Linked DNA regions of Homo sapiens: region 1 is linked to region 2. The links are contacts of gene promoters, found by promoter capture Hi-C in blood cells and fetal thymus (Javierre and others, 2016). All regions are on one chromosome and are shown on one strand. The core of a region is centred on a gene start or on the middle of the fragment in contact, and the rest is flanking DNA. Distances in the headings are between cores, read along the strand shown.

Region 1 (3,765 bases), core at 187-2,686, 100 kb after region 2:
AGGGAAGGAAAGTGGCTGATTATGACAGTCTTCCTAATATGCAAGTTCTCATTTCCTATTTCCAGCATCAGCCTTTCTGGCCGTGTCTTTTTTCTGCTTCCCTGGAGTATAAGGAAAAGTTAGTTGCATCTTAGCAACTCTCCTGCCCCAGGCCTCTGTGGGTAGCAAGAAAGCCAGAGCTATCTGAGATAAAACCTAGAAGGCAGCATGCAACCAACTTTTCCTCACCAAGACATAAATATAGTTAGTGATTCTGCTTACATGGTGTATAGTATTACTCATTTAAATCTTGCACATGTGAAGGGCATTACTAATGAACCCCTACTAGCTTTGTTTCTTCCAGCACAAGAGCTCCTCGGTCCCATCATCACCCTCTTTACATCATACATATTCGCTCTCATTCTAAGCTACCTGGTCCCTTATCAGAAAAGAATGCTCAAGGTGATGCTCTAGTATGACCATAGATGTGGTCTGCAGATTCTCCTGCTTTTTTGCGAGTCCAGCTGATCATGATTTTTTTCATCAGAACGCCTGGATTCTTAAACAACAGTTTCATTTGACACTTGCTCAAGCTCGCATGATTATTAAAACTTGTCCTGATTGCCAACAGCATTCTCTTTCCCCTTTTTCCTTAAGGCTTGGTGCCAACCTACAAGGTCTGGTGCCTAATGCTATTTGGCAAACTGATGTTACTCAGTATCCACCCTTTAAACGTTTTAAATTTCTCCACGTTACCGTGTACACTTACACAGGCCTAATACATGCTACCCCCAGACCAGAAAAAAAACTAAAGATGCAATTGGTCATTTATTTGAATCCATTATAACTTTAAACCTTCCACAAACTATAAAACCTGATAATAGACCTTGCTAGCTTAGTGCTCGATTTGCATATGCATTGCAACTTTAGCACATACAACACAAAACTAGTATTCCTTATACCTCAACTAGTCAAGCCATTGTTAAACAAGCTTATCAAACTCTTAATATATATCTTAAACAAAAAACGGGGAATATGGGGCTCTCTTTTCGAGAACAGGACCTGTTGTTAGAGAATCGACCACAACAATGAAGGTGATGACTTGGAAGGCACCTAACACTACCTGGGGACAGCTAAAGAAATTGAATCAACAGGCATCTATTTGGCTTGCAGCTGTGGAAGCCCTCGCAACCGCATGGAATCGGTTTCTTAAGTATCTGGTGGTAACTGGGGAAACTTCTGAGAAAGTAAGACAAACATGGATGTTGGGGTGGCTGGCAATTCTTGTCCTTTGCCAAGTGGGATCAGCTCAAGAACATGTTTATTGGAGTCATGTTTTAAATCCCCGTTTTTAATGTTATTACATGGTGGGATGCTGACCTGCCTTTGTCATCCAATGATACTTTTGGGACAGGAGGTTGATAGATGCCCCTGTCTTACCCCTTAACTGAAAATTTGGGATGGATTAAACTTAATTACTACTTGATTTTATTGTCTAGTAATCCCCCTTTTTTTCCCCATAATAGCACATGATAAGTGTGTTACTCTCATTCTTCAGGAGTATCTTTATTACCAGCCCCAAAGGGATACTAAGTTTGCAAACTTGACCTTTATGTCTGCTGTTAGCACTAATCTTACTGAGGTCTCTAATGAAGCTACACAAGTGCCTGATCTTCCTATATGCTGTCTGAGTACGGACTGGCGATATAAGTGTGAGGCCATCCAGTGGTCGCCATGCAAACAGCCTGCGCTGCATCAAGAGCCTCTGTTTGATAATGACACCTTACTTGATTAGGGTCCCCATGGTAATCTTATGTCTGCAGATCAGACTATTGGATTTAGGAGTCCCTCCAATAGTTCTATCATCTGGTCAGAGTATGGGCTTTTAGGACCAATATTACAAGTAAAAGGGAAACAAGCTTTAAGCCATGCTCATACCCAGATTTGGAGATTAGGACTTCCTTTTTTTGAATGGGTTCTTTCCCATGGTGAGTATATTACTAGCGGTGGCAACTATACCCTCTCTCTGCATAATAATGTTACCGACATAGTCTTGATTTGTACTATGCACCCTTATATACTTTTGTTTCGGCAAGGTGTTCCTAACATAGAGCAGAATCAATCCTTTTATAGTATTAAAGTCTCTTCCAGTAGTTGGTATGCTACATGCTTCTCTCATCAAAACGTTACATAATTAAATATAACCTGTGTCATGATCTTAAAATGGCATGCAGAATGGTGGCTGCCTGTAAATTTAACTTGGAGCTAGGAAGAGGATTCCACCCTGCACCTATTTAGAAAAGCATTGTCTCATACTTGAAAAATAAGATTTCTGGCCACTTCAGTTGCCTTTTTACTCTCAGCTATTATTATATTAGCAACTGCCGCTACTGCAACTGCTTCTCTGACAGAATCTATTCACACAGCCTCAGTGATAAGCCACATGGTATATAATGTAACCCATGAATTTCAGGAATAGGTAAATATTGATAAAACTATTTTGTCTCACTTAGAGACCCTTGAAGCCACTTTTGAATGGCTAGGGGATCAGCAGCAGGCATTCATTACCCGTCAAAATTTACATTGTGATTGGCAATATAATTCTGTGTCACACCTCTGCCATATAATAGCTCCCAATATGCTTGGGAGAGAGTGAAAGCACATCTGCAAGGGGCTTATCACGACTATTTGTCTTCTCAAATTTCCACTCTTGAGTGTAAATTGAACAACTTGAAGAATAGTCACAGCAACTACAAACAAGTACCCTTCAGCAATTACAAGAAAGTTTTCATTGGTTAAACCCCAACACTTGGTTGTCTGGGTTAAACATATGCATTTAGGTGATGGCCGTTGTACTTATTCTTTTTTTTATCTGTTTGCTAGGCATTTGCAGACGGCTCTGTGCTGCCACCCAACGTATCTATGACCAAGGAAGAACAATAGAAGTTTACCTTGCATTGGATGACCAGCATGTGCTAAGAATTAAAGAAGAGGGAGACATCGGGGGAGCATGGCAATATATTCAACCTTATGTACGTGGCATTTGAGGTCGGGGCATGGAAAAATACTGAGGCACTGTGTGTATGTTATTTGTGCATGAGAATGAAATTCCTTGATCCCGAAAACAGGACAGGAGTGGAGTGTGTGGTGTGATAAGGAACGCTAAAAACAGCCTCCTGAGAATGCAGTTTGAGTGCTTTTACAAGGCCACAGGTGTCTCACGACTGGACCTCAAGCCATCTAGTGGATGTTTGTGGTTTAACAAGCCCTTTCAATAAATACTGTGCGGATGAATGCTGGGGTGGACTCTCTTAGAAGAGCTATCTTGCCCCCGTTCAGCTGGAATTGTCTGAGAACTCATTCTTGGCATTCACTGCAAGCTATAAGCTCTGGACAAAAAGTATAAAAATATTTGAAATTATCTATTTTTAATGTTTTACCAGAAAACATGAGTACATGGCAAATACTTTATCATTGTTCTTTCCTCCCCACAAAGGAAGCTCATTACTTTGAAACTTATTCAGTAAAAAGTATACTGAATAGAAATATACTAAGGAAATATTATTCCAAGCAGCAGTGTGTATTATAGAGTATTCTTAGTGACCTCAACAGTCACCATAACCTTTCACAGAAAAGTAGAAAATTACCTTGAATTCCAGCACTCAAAGATTATCACGAATAATACTTTTTTTGTCTCTTTCTAGTAGTTTTCCTATTCATTAGTATAAAAATGTTAAGGCAATTGAGTCTGTATCAACCACAAGACAAAAAACCTTTTAAGATCGC
Region 2 (3,819 bases), core at 679-3,178:
CAAACTTCCTTCCAAAAAAATTTACAGCAGTCACAAACTGCTGTTTATGATCATTTTAGATATAAAATTCCATAACTCAAGTTAGCATTGACATTTTATAAGTGCTGTCAAGTCACTCTAGGGAATGAAAATGAGCATCTCACTATGTGCTCTGAAGTGGGGACATATTTCTCTGCTTGTTATGGACGGTGAGAGATGGCTAAATTGAAGCAGAGAAATATTTCAGTGATGCAGAGCAAAGGTGACTTCCTGTTTTGTTTCAGGTTTTGTTTCCTTCTCCTCTCAATGAAGGCTGTGTTTTCTGACATTCGGCAATCCTTTTGCTCAGTGATTTCCCATTGAGAGGGCATAGTGTGAAGGCCTCTGCAGGTCATTCCATTTACAATATAAGCTGAAAGGGTAGAGTGGGGCGGGGGTGGGGGGAAGAGGGAGCTCATTAGTGGAAGAAGCAGACCAGGAGGGGATCTGTTTTCCATTTTCTCCTCCAGATTGAACTCATCTGGATGGAAAGGTTTTGATTGTTGTTATAATCATCATTATTACCTGCGTGATGTCGTTTTCCTACACTTTTTTTTTAAGTGTCGGGCAGAATTGTTGCTGAGAATAACAAATAATATCTGCCATGTTATCCGTGAGCAAAATCAGAAAAAAAAAGTCCAAGTGTATTAGAGCTGTTAGTTTCCACGTTAACCCTTAAGGAGCAAAGCTCAAGAGTTCTAATTCCACTAGGTGGGGGGGGCGGGAATAGAAGGAAAAAACCCCTTTTCCTTGCTTCTGGTGGCCTATTTGTAGTCATGAACAGCATTTCTTTGTTTCTCTCTCTCTTTTTTTTTTTTTTTAAAGGCAATCCTCCCCCCACCTCCTCCCCCGCAGTTATTGAAAATGGAGACCTCTGTAGTCACTAGCTCTGGGTTGATATGGCTCCACCGTTGCTCGCAGGGGTCTGTGTTTTCCGCTACTTGGACAAAGTGACATTGCTTAAGCCTTTCCCCCCACCAGGTCTGACTTTCTGCAGAGCCAGTGATTGCAGAGGAAAAGCTGTAGTTTGCTTAAAGGAAATACCTCCAGGAAGGAGGGTCTCGGGTGGGTTCCCAAGTGGGGAACTAGGGGGACTTTTCCGTAGGGAATTGGGGTGGGCTCTTCAGTGAGGGGCTAGGGGCTCGTTTCTGGGGCCAAAGACGGGTTCCCTAGTGTGAGGGCGCGCTCGACTCGGCGCTGTCTTGGGGTCTCGCACTCGCACGGCTTCGCACCCCACCGCCTGCGACTCCCAGGCCTTCTCTTCCCCGGGCGCCCACTCCATTCTCGGGAAGAGCAGCCGGCACTGGAGGGCAGAGACTGCCCCAGGGGCGGAGCTCCCTCTCAGGCGGGAGGTAGGAAAGTGCAGAGCCGCCCGGGCAGAGGCACAGACGTCCCTGCGGGGCTCCTCCTGAGCGTCCCTCCTGCCAGCCAGGGTCGCAGCCGCAGCGGCGGCCGCAGCTCTTAGCCCACACAGGACTTGTAAACTCTTACTGCACCCTTCTCTCCCATTAGGAGCTTTTCCTCCCTCCTTCCCCCCAACCCCTCTGTCCTCCTCACTTTGGGGAATTTAATGCTTTCTTTAGCATCTTTTTGTGTGCGTGATCTAGGGGAGGAGACACCCCAGAGCTCCAACTAGCTCTCAGCTGAATTCTACTTTTGTTTTTATGTCTTCCTCGCCTCCTCTCGTGTCCCTCTTATCTGACTGATCTGCGAAGTCTGATGCTTCTGCCAGAGGGAGAGGAATAAATAGATGTTGCTGCTTCCGAAGGCTTAGACGTTGGGAAAGAGCAGCCTGGGCGGCAGGGGCGGTGGCTGGAGCTCGGTAAAGCTCGTGGGACCCCATTGGGGGAATTTGATCCAAGGAAGCGGTGATTGCCGGGGGAGGAGAAGCTCCCAGATCCTTGTGTCCACTTGCAGCGGGGGAGGCGGAGACGGCGGAGCGGGCCTTTTGGCGTCCACTGCGCGGCTGCACCCTGCCCCATCCTGCCGGGATCATGGTCTGCGGCAGCCCGGGAGGGATGCTGCTGCTGCGGGCCGGGCTGCTTGCCCTGGCTGCTCTCTGCCTGCTCCGGGTGCCCGGGGCTCGGGCTGCAGCCTGTGAGCCCGTCCGCATCCCCCTGTGCAAGTCCCTGCCCTGGAACATGACTAAGATGCCCAACCACCTGCACCACAGCACTCAGGCCAACGCCATCCTGGCCATCGAGCAGTTCGAAGGTCTGCTGGGCACCCACTGCAGCCCCGATCTGCTCTTCTTCCTCTGTGCCATGTACGCGCCCATCTGCACCATTGACTTCCAGCACGAGCCCATCAAGCCCTGTAAGTCTGTGTGCGAGCGGGCCCGGCAGGGCTGTGAGCCCATACTCATCAAGTACCGCCACTCGTGGCCGGAGAACCTGGCCTGCGAGGAGCTGCCAGTGTACGACAGGGGCGTGTGCATCTCTCCCGAGGCCATCGTTACTGCGGACGGAGCTGGTGAGTTTTGACACGGCCCACCCTTCCCTTACCCTACAGCCTCCTCAATTCTTGGAGTCCTTGTTACTAGCCTTTACTCTCTAATTTTTTTCTCTTCGGATCACTTAATCTCTCCCATAACTGCTCCTCTATCAAAGACCCTTCTTCTTCTTTCTTCTTTTTTCAAAAACAAAAACAAAAAAACCCTCACCTTATCACCTTCCAAACTGATGCACTCTGGCACTGTGTTCCAATAGGCGATCTTTCTAAAACAATCCATGCATTCCAAACCCATCACACTTCTACTCCACAGGAATCCTTCACTTCAACTCCTTACATGTGCAAGTAGCCACATTTTGTAAAGTGATGCTCTTTTTCTTTTAAAATGTGTTTATAATCATTGGGTTTTCTTTGCTGATTCTCAGGCAATCTCAGTCATCAGGTTTCTGTATCTTTAGTGTCTTAGATGCTTGTTAAGATTGTGTGGAGGAAACAGAAAACTGAAGCCCCATTTTCTTCTAATTAAAAATGCCAAGATAATTTCAATAACCTTACTCTAACCGACAGATGTTAGGGGTATGTGTTTGCTCAAGATCCAGTTTGAGCAATTACCTTCACCTTAAATTTCCCCCTCCTTTCAATGAGATAAATTGTTCTTCCATTCCAGAATGAAACAATTGTGAAACATTGCTATGCACTGTTAATTAGCTTCTGTGGCTTGCCATAGAGCTGGCAGACTGAAATTACTGAGCTCTTTTCACATGCCCACATGCCTTCAAGTCATTTTATAAGTGGCATACAGATGAAAGGAGTTATATTTAAGGCGTGTTATCATACACTCACGTAATGTTATTTTAAATCTCACCCCTTATTCCACTCTCATGTTTTGAAAAAAAAATTGTCTTTAATACCTTATTTCATGCTCCTTTTCCGTGTGTGCACCAACCACAGTCATTTCAGTCTTTCCCTACCATAAAACTTTATTGCAGCTCTAAATTTAATGGAGTCAATCACAAGTTGTTTTCTCACTAGTGTTTAGTCTAATTATGACATTTGTAACTTTAAGACCCCAACTAAACCTACTTCATTATGGTCCATTTAATTCTAACTCAGTATTACTTCTACCAACTAACCCAACCTCAAATTTTACCCTTCATATATTTTATAAAGAAGGCAATTTTTTTTCATGAGTGGTCCTCTTTCATACCACATCCCCCACCCCCCAACAACTCTGTTCTTAGATGTGTTGACTTGGTTGCCTCCATCTGTTTATTTCTTGGGCATCAACTTTCCTTCCTCTTTCAACTTGCGCAGTCTAGGCGCATGTCCCCAGTCCATTTCCAGGTAGTA

What was found. Contacts are between HindIII fragments. The CHiCAGO score rates a contact against its expected background, and 5 or more counts as called.
Region 1: a contact is called between a fragment that was not itself captured here and the fragment with the promoter of FRZB in region 2, in 1 of 17 cell types (megakaryocytes). The highest score is 5.5, in megakaryocytes.

The regions. Positions count from the first base shown.
Region 1 is chr2:182,762,961-182,766,725 of GRCh38, reverse strand. The region is part of intron 22 of DNAJC10 (DnaJ heat shock protein family (Hsp40) member C10); the gene reads right to left. Among named protein-coding and RNA genes, the nearest start is that of DNAJC10, 49 kb to the right of the region's middle. The HindIII fragment of the contact is 928 bases long and covers 973-1,900 here.
Region 2 is chr2:182,864,746-182,868,564 of GRCh38, reverse strand. FRZB (frizzled related protein) reads left to right here and starts at 1,928. Exons shown (of 6, transcript NM_001463.4): 1 at 1,928-2,490. The coding sequence starts at 2,013. RefSeq lists an enhancer at 1,797-2,765. The HindIII fragment of the contact is 6,424 bases long and covers 1-3,819 here.